Regions from separate parts of the Homo sapiens genome. Here region 1 is linked to region 2. Evidence: promoter capture Hi-C in 16 types of primary human blood cells and fetal thymus (Javierre and others, 2016). All regions are on one chromosome and are shown on one strand. Each heading gives the region's core, a stretch centred on a gene start or on the middle of the fragment in contact. The rest is flanking DNA. Distances are from core to core; before and after follow the strand shown. Region 1 has its middle 190 kb from the start of OR4A5. Region 2 holds the start of OR4S2 (olfactory receptor family 4 subfamily S member 2).

Region 1 (4,426 bases), core at 1,450-3,949, 750 kb after region 2:
ACCACTTTGTGATGTGTGCATTCATCTCACAGAGGTAAACCTGTTTTTCATTCAGCAGTTGGAAACACTGTTTTGCTAGAATCTGTGAAGGAATTATACGAGTGCATTGAGGCCTATGGTGAAAAAGGGAATATCTTCAGATAAAAACTAGAAAGAAGCTTTCTGAGAAACTGCTTTCTGACATGTGCATTCATCTCATAGAGTTAAACCTTTCTTTGGATTCAGTAGTGTAGAAACTCTGCTTTTCTCCACTCTGAGAATGGATATTTGGCAGCTAATTGAGGCCAATGGCAAAAAAGCTAATATCCCAGGATAAAAACTAGAAGGAAGCCATCTGAAAAACTGTTTTGTGATGTGTGCATTCATCTCACAGAGTTAAATCTTTCTTTTCATTCAGCAGTTTGGAAACATTGTTTTGGTAGAATCTGCGAAGGTATATTTTGGAGCACACTGAGGCCTATGGTAAAAAAGGAAATAACTTCAGATCAAAACTAGAAAGAAGCTTTCTGACAAACTGCTGTGTGATGTGTGCATTCATCTCACAGATTTCAACATTTCCTTGGATTCAGCAGTTTGGAAACACTGTTGTTGTAGAATCTGCAAAACAATAGTTGGGAGCTCATTGAGGCCATAGCAGAAAAAGCCAATATCCCAGGGTAAAAACTAGAAGGAAGCTATCTGGGAATCCACTTTGTGATGTGTCCATTCATATCCGAGAGTTGCACCTTTCTTTTCATTCTGGAGAATGGAAACACTGTTTTTGTCAATTCTGTGACTGGATATTTGGGTGCACGTTGAGGCCAATGGCAAAATAGTGAATATCCCTGGAGAAAAACTAGAAGAAAGCAATCTGAGCAACTGCTTTGTGATGAGTGCTTTCTTCTCACATACTTAAACCTGTCTTTTCATTCGGCAGTTGGAAACACTGTTTTTGTAGAACCTGTGAAGGTATTATAGGAGTGCATTGAGGCATATGGTGAAAAAGGAAATATCTTCAGATAAAAACTAGAAAGAAGCTTTCTGAGAAATGGCTTTGTGACATGTGCATTCATCTCATACAGTTAAACCTTTCTGTGGATTCAGTAGTTTAGAAACTCTGTTTTTCTCCACTCTGCATATAGACATTTTGCAGCTAATTGAAGCCAATGGCAAAAAAGCGAATATCCCAGGATAAAAACTAGAAGGAAGCTATCTGAAAAACTGCTTTGTGATGTGTGCATTCATCTCACAGAGTTAATTTTTTATTTTCATTCAGCAGGTTGGAAAAACTGTTTTTGTAGAAAGTGCAAGGGATTTTTCAGAGCACATTGAGGTTTATAGTAAAAAGGAAATATCTTCAGTTGAAAACTAGAAACAAGCTTTCTGAGAAGCTGCTTTGTGGTGTGTGCATTCATCTCACAGCGTTAAAACTTTCTTTGGATTCAACAGTTTGGAAACATTGTTGTTGTAGAATGTGTGAAGACATATTTGGGAGCTCATTGTGGCCATCAGGCCATCAGAGAAAAAGTGAATATCCCAGGATAAAAACTAGAAGGAAGCTATCTGAGAAACCACTTTGTGATGTGTGTATTCATCTCAGAGATTTCAACATTTCCTTGGATTCAGCAGTTTGGACACTCTGTTTCAGTAGAATCTGTGACGAGATATTTGATAGATCATTGAGGCCATAGGCTAAACAGCAAATATCCCAGGGTAAAAAGTAGAAGGAAAGTATCTGAGAAACCACTTTGTTATGTATCCATTCATCCTTTTGCAGATTCTAAAATAACAGTGTTTCCGAACTGCTGAATCCAAAGAAATGTTTAACTCTGTGAGATGAATGCACACATCACAATGCGGTGAGAGGTTCTTTCTAGTTTTCATCCTGGGATATTTGCTTTTTCATCATTGGCCTCAATGAGCTGCCAAATGTTCTTTCATAGAATGGACAGAAATTGGTGTTTTCAAAATACGGTATCCAAAGAAATGTTTAGCTCTGTGACATGAAAGCACACATCAGAAAGCAGTTTCTCAGAAAGCTTCTTTCTACTATTTATATGAAGATATTTACTTTTTCACCATAAGCCTCAATGAGCTCCCATATATCCCTTTGCAGATTCTCCCAAAAAGTGTTTCCAAACTGCTAAATGAAAAGAAACTTTTAACTCTGTAAGATGAATGCACACATCACAAAGTGGATTCTCAGATAGCTTATTCTAGTTTTTATCCTGGGATATTGGCTTTTTCACTTTTGACCCCAATGAGCTCCCAAATATCCATTCGCAGACTCTACAGAAGTGTGTTTCCATACTACTGAATGAGAAGAAAATTTTAAGTATGCGACACAAATGCACACATAACAAGTGGTTTCTGAGATAGTTTCCTTCTAATTTTTATTTTGGGATAGTATTTTTTTTTTCCTTGGCCTCACTTAGCTCACAAATATCCCTTTTCAGATTCTACAAAAACAGTGTTTCCAAACTGCTGAATCCAAAGAATGGTTTAACTCTGTGAGATGAATGCTCACATCACAAAGCAGTTTCTCAGAAAGCTTCTTTCTAGTTTTCAACTAAAGATATTTCCTTTTTCACCACAGGCCTCCAAGAACTCCCATATATCCCTTCACAGATTTCGAAAAACAGTGTTTCCAAACTGCTGAATATAAAACAAGTTTAACTCTGTGAGATGAATGCACACATCACAAATCGGTTTGTCAGATATCTTTCTTCTACATTGTATCCTGGGATATTCACTTTTTTGCCATTGGTTTCAATCAGATCTTAAATGTCCATTCACAGAATGGACAAAAACAGTTTCTCCAAACTGATGAATCAAAAGCAAGTTTTAATACTGTGAGATGAATGCAGATATTGCACAGCAGTTTCTCAGAAAGCTTTTTTCTAGTTTTCATCTAAAGACATTTCCTTTTTCACCATAGGCCTCAATGCGCTCTGAAATATCCCATCCAAGATTCTACCAAAAGTGTTTCCAAACTGCTGAATGAAAAGACAGGTTTAACTCTGAGAGATAAATGCACATATCACAAAGTGGTTTCACATATAATTCCTTCTAGTTTTTATCCTGGGCTTTTCACTTTTTCACCTTTGGCCTCAACGAACTCCCAAATGTCCCTTTGCAGATTCTACAAAAACACTATTTCCAAACTGCTGAATCCAAAGAAAGGTTGAACTCTGTGATATGAATGCACATATCAGAGAGCAGTTTCTCAGAAAAGTTCTTTTTACTTTTAATCTGAAGTTATATTTCCTTTTTCATTATAGGCTCCATTGCGTTTCCAAACATCCCCGCACAGATTCTATGAAAACAGTTTTTCCAAACTGCTGAATGAAAAGAAATGTTTAACTCTGTGAAATGAATGCACTCATTACAAAGTGGTTTCTCAAAGAGTTCTTTCTAGTATTAATCCTGGGATATTACCTTTTTTGCCTTTGACCTCAATGAGCTCCCAATTATCCCTTAGCAGATTCTACCAAAACAGTGTTTCCAAACTGCTGAATAAAAAGAGGTTTTACTGTGAGAGGTGAATGCACACATCACAAAGCAGATTCACAGAATGCTTCTTTCTAGCTTTTATCCTAGGATATTCCGTTTTTTGCCTTGTCCTCAATGAGATCCAATATATTGCTTCACAGATTCTACAAAAACAGTGTTTCCAAGTTGCCAAATCCAAAGAAAGGGTTAACTCTTTGAGAAGAATGTACACATCACAAAGTGGTTTCTCAGATAGCTTCTATCTCCTTTTTATACTGGGATATTCCCTTTTTTTACATTGGCCTCTATAAGTTCCTAAATTTCCATTCACAAAATGGACAAAGGATCATCTCTAACCTGCTGTATCCAAAGAAAGTTTTAACTCTGTGTGATGAATGAACACATCATAAAGCAGTTTCTCAGAATTCTTGTTTCTAGTTTTTTATCTGAAGATATTTCCTTTTTCACCATAGACCTCTATGTGCTGCCAGATATCACCTACTACATTCTACGAAAACAGAGTTTCCAAAATGTTGAATGAATAAAAAAGTTTAATTCTGTGAAGTGAATGCACACATCACAAAGCGGTTTCTCAGATAGTTCCTTCTAATTTTTATCCTTGGATATTGCCTTTTTTTGCCATTGGTCTCTATGAACTCCCCAAAATCCATTCTCAGAAAGTACAAAAACAGTGTTTGCAAATGGCTGAATCCACAGAAAGGCTTAACTCTGTGAGGTGAATGCATATATCCCAAATCAGTTTCTCGGAAAGCTTTCCAGATTAATCTGAAGATATTTCCTTTTTCACCCTAAGCCTCAATGTGCTCCCAGATATACCTTTGCATATTCTATGAAAACAGTGTTTCCAAACTGCTGAATTAGAAGAAAGCTTTAACTATGCAAAATGAATGCAAACATCACAAAGCAGTTTCTCAAAGAGCTTCTTTCTAGTTTT
Region 2 (4,822 bases), core at 1,738-4,237:
TCCCGGTTCATGATGGTCATATAATGTAGGGGTTTACAGATAGCCACATAACGATCATAGGCCATTACAGTAAGGATGAAGATCTCAGTGCAACCAAAGAAATGTACTCCAAACAGTTGCAACATGCACCCCACATAGGAGATGGTTTTGTCCTTTGCTAACAGGTCAACAATCATCTTGGGAGCTGTGACTGAAGAGTAACAAATGTCCACAAAAGACAAGAAGCTGAGAAAGAAATACATGGGTGACTTAAACAGGTTGCTCAGGCAAACTGTCAGCATGATGAGGAGATTTCCCAGAAGAATGATTATGTAGAAGAAAGAAAACACCACAAAACAAACTTTCTCAATCTCTGGGCTCTGAGAAAGACCCCAGAAAATGAATTCAGTTACGTTGTTTATTTTTTCCATGGAATGGGTCAAGTTCTTAGGAGACAATTAAATTACCTGAAAAAAAGAAAACATAAAAAGGACTGTATTTATTTTATTTCTAACGCAGAACCAACGGAAAATCACAGTAGATCAAAAGAGGAAAAAATGCTGATTGGCATGCATACTTGAAGAAATTGAAATGCATCTATTTTGATCATCTTACCTCAAGATAAGATCACATTCGTTCACTTCAGGTGAGAAAGCAAAATCCAGAGAGATAAAGTAAATCCCCTCAATCTCATATATATGTTACCACATGCCTCTCTTCTCTCACCTTTTATTAATGTTTATTTAGCTGTTTCTAAACTTTATTTAGTTTTTATTTTTTATACGACACTGAGTTTTGAAACAACTTCTGTATTTTGGGATATGGTAACATCTATGTTATCTACTGGCAAATATCTGGAAATGATTGCTTTATTTTTGACCCATAAGTGAAAACATACGCCCACATTTCACCTTTTGAATACTGCCATGCCTGATTATCACATCAACTCACAAATATTCTGCAATTTCTCTGCAAGTTTAACCACTCTTGCCTTTGCAAGTTCTTCTCATGAAACTCTATCTTTGTGCACATGATGTATGCACCTCCACCAGTGTGGTCTCGAGCCCTGATAGTCAAGATGTAGTGTGAGGTAATAGAAAGAGGAGCAAAATTACACAAAATTGATTCTAAAATGATACTACTGTAACCCCCAAGGTAAATTATTTAACTTAACAGAAATTCTCTTATCCCATTTGTGAAATGACAGTTTCAATTTCACTGTTACATATCACATTAATAGTTATTTCAGCCGTGAACTTAAATCACTTCTGTCAGTATGAAATATTCATAAAACCCTGATAGGAAGGCAGAAATAAGGTAAAGCAATAAAAGAAACTTCTAGAGACAAAGCAAGACCTGTTTGATTTGAAAGGAGAGGGAGTGAAGTCTTATGTAATTTCTCCATGTGCAAACTCAGAATACTTTAGGATTTTCCAGGACTGACTTTGCTTTGTATTTTTAAACATTTTTCTATTAACTGAAACGAAGAAAATGGGTGTAAAAAAGAGAAGACTGTCCCTTAATGTCAACATTGCTTCATACATCTTTCTAATCTTTCAAGTTTTATTCTGGCCATATTCATTCTCCCAATTTGGTCGATTTATATTTCTGGAAGAGATCATCACTGAATGACAATTTTAATGGGTTTAGGAAAATGACATTTATCTAAATGGATGAATATTCATTGGTGAAATTTCAGGCACTACAATGGGGTCATTGGTACATGGATGGAAAAGGGTATCTGTAATAGTTTTGATTAAAGGAGCTTTTAGGATTCTTTCGCTAATCAACCGCAGGTGTAAATGATCCCTCCAATTACAGGTGGTCTAGCAGAGACCTGTAGATCCTCTCAAGATCCATCCAGCTGAATGCTGACAACTCCTACTAAACTCTGTGCTCTCAGCTATCCTTATGCAGTGAAGTCGTGCCTAATACTTCCAGCTTTTGGGAATCTATAGGATTGTGTTTCTTCAGGTATTCATGTTAGAGTTGGCACAGTAGTCATTACAGGTGTGCTATCTCTTGTGCATTACAAAATAATGATTGTAAGAGTAATAGTAATATGATTTAGATACAGTCTCAAGCACATCCCCTGCTTTTACATGCTCATTCCTCTTCAGTTATCCTGCTGAATTAAAAGAAAAATACCATCCTCCACTAAGAGAGCCCCTCAACTTAAGGAAGCTCACAACATAGCAGTTTTGAGCAACAATTATTTATGTTGCTTTGCTCTCATCTAGAAGAAACTGGGCTTTTGCACACAAGCCTGAGGATTTTTTCCCCTACCGTCCATATCACAAGGTTCTAGAGGAATTTTTTTTTTCATTCACCAATCTATTTTATTCAGGTATTCATTTATCTTAATTGCAGGATTGAGATCTAAAGTTCCATTTATCAGAATGTGCATCCTAGTAAAGGCTGTTAACCTTCTGAATCATGGCCTCTCTTGACTCCAACTGATGCAGTAACATCTTGCTGTTTCTCTCCTTAAGCCAATATCCATCACAAGGATGCCTTCCTCCTTTATCTGGGCATGTTGGGCATAATGACTCACTTTCCTTTGAAATTATTGACATTTTCTTATTTGTGTCCATCCTACCCTTCCTCACAGTCATGTTTAGGTACATGTTACTATCTTACTATCATGATTTTAATAATTTCATTCTCTCTGTATTTCAGAGAACAATATTTTTCCATTATTTTATAAATGTTCAAAATCTAACAATTTAATTATCTTTTTCCACAAATATTCTGTATTCGTTTGAAAAGAAAAAAAAATCTCACCAGTATTTTCCAGAGCTTGAGTTCACTTTATGTTTCTATCTCTTCTTGAGTTAATTTGGGTGCAGCTTCCCAAGGTAAAGTAACAGTGATGCCTAGGGAATTCCTTTGTGAATAATTAGTACCGGAAAATACCTGACCCCCCAAACTGAAAGGCTGGTAGAAATGAGTCTTTGTTGTTCCTGGTTTTCTCACCTAATGATACCTGCCATTTCACAGGGTCTTTGACAATAAATGCTGTTTTCTCTATTCTTACAGGTCTATTTAAAGAGGAAGATGCAAAATGATAAATGACCTTGGAGACAGCTTTTCCCCAAAGTCTTCCTCCATAGTCAAAATCAAATTGCAGCCCTACCAATGAACTTTAATTCTAGTGTCTGTTCAATTTTTTAAAATTAAATTTTAAAAATTGTTGCTAAATACAAAAACCGATCAATTCTCATATTAACGACTATAGCCCTAATCCAAAGCAATTCAGCCAAGAGAAGTAATAATTTTATCATTCTAAACCTTGTTTTTGAATTAATATGCTTTACTATATGCATTAAATAGTCCATATTTGATATAACATATTAAGATATCTGTTTTATGTTATTTATTGAATTGTAATTGTTCTTTCTTGAAAGCTATATTGTAATAGAAAATAGTATATTCGATTGTGCTATTTGGGAACATTGCTTTTCTTCTTAATTGATTCTATGCTGATTTATGGAGAAATAGCTGGGATAAGGTTCATGTTTGGCCTATGCTTGGAATAAGTATGGTGTTGAATTTAATTCATTTACTTTTATATTGTAAATTCTTAAGGTTGACTCACGAAAACTAATAATAATCTTGCTTTTTCTCTTCCTATTTCTATTAGTTTCTTTCCCCATGCTTGACTTTTTTACTTTACTCTTCTTACCTTATCTTACCTTTTTCTTTATTTCAAACAACATCCAAAATGTCCAAGAGATCCTACTTATATTTTCACTATCTGGAGTTAGCAGAAGAAATGAGTGAAAAATAAAGAGTAGGAAGTAAAAGAGCAATTATGCCCAGGTTTGTGGAAACATTCATCATGATTAAGCTAGTGTGTTAGTTTCCTGTTGCTGCTGCAATGAATTACCACAAACTTAGTGGCTTAAATCAATACAAAGTCAGTATTTCACAGTTCTGCAGGTGAGAAGTCCAAAATGAGGCTCACTGGGCTAAAATCAAGGCATTGGAAAGGATGAATCCTTCCGAAGTCTGTAGGGGAAAACTCATTCTGTTCCAGCTTCTAGAATCTACCAGCTTCCTTATGGCCCCTTTCCTTCATCTCCAAAGCAGGCAGTGTAGCATCTTCAAATTTAACTTATTCTGCTTCACTTTCCCATTTTAAATAAACCTTGTGAATACGTTGAGCCCACATGGATAGTGCACGATAACATCTTTGTTTTAAGGTCAACTGACTAGCAAACTTAATTTTTATCTACAATCTTAATCACCTTATCATGTAACAAAATATATTGATAAGTTCTGAGGACTAAGATGTGAACATCTTTGGAGATCCCTATTCTGCTGCTCAGTTATTTAGATGAGTAGTGGGGCGAGTCAGTATATCTTCTATTCCTACTTTGCAAAATGTACTTTGAGATCTAGGAGATGTTTAAAAATATGTTTTGGAACAAATGCTAAATATAATATATAAATAATGGAATATTAATGTTCATATTTTATAACAGAAATGTGTGCAAAGGAAGGATATCTGATGAGAATTATCACTTGGATTAAAAAAGACAGCTACATGTCATGTGATAGGAAAATGATAGTAAATTAATAAAAGATATAAGAATAGTACATACACAGCAACGGTCAATAGATTTAACATTCATTTATTATAATAGCTTTATTGCGATATGATTCATATACTATGTAGTTCATCAATTTAAAGTGTACAGTTTAATTAATTGATGTTTCATAAGCAGGGTTGGGCAACCATCAACACAATCTAAGTTTACAACATCTTTGTCCCCTCAAAAAGAAACCCCATTCTCATTAGCAATCACTCCTCATTCCTCTCTCACACCATCACCCCCAG

The links. The method cuts DNA at HindIII sites, captures the fragments that hold promoters and counts their contacts. A CHiCAGO score of 5 or more calls a contact.
Region 1: a fragment that was not itself captured here is called in contact with the fragment with the promoter of OR4S2 in region 2 in 1 of 17 cell types (activated CD4 T cells); the score reaches 5.3 in activated CD4 T cells.

Annotation. Positions count from the first base shown.
Region 1 is chr11:54,898,990-54,903,415 of GRCh38, reverse strand. No RefSeq gene overlaps it. Among named protein-coding and RNA genes, the nearest start is that of OR4A5, 190 kb to the right of the region's middle. The HindIII fragment of the contact is 342 bases long and covers 2,529-2,870 here.
Region 2 is chr11:55,646,492-55,651,313 of GRCh38, reverse strand. OR4S2 (olfactory receptor family 4 subfamily S member 2) reads right to left here and starts at 2,987. Exons shown (of 2, transcript NM_001004059.3): 1 at 2,764-2,987; 2 at 1-446. The coding sequence starts at 410. The HindIII fragment of the contact is 13,020 bases long and covers 1-4,822 here.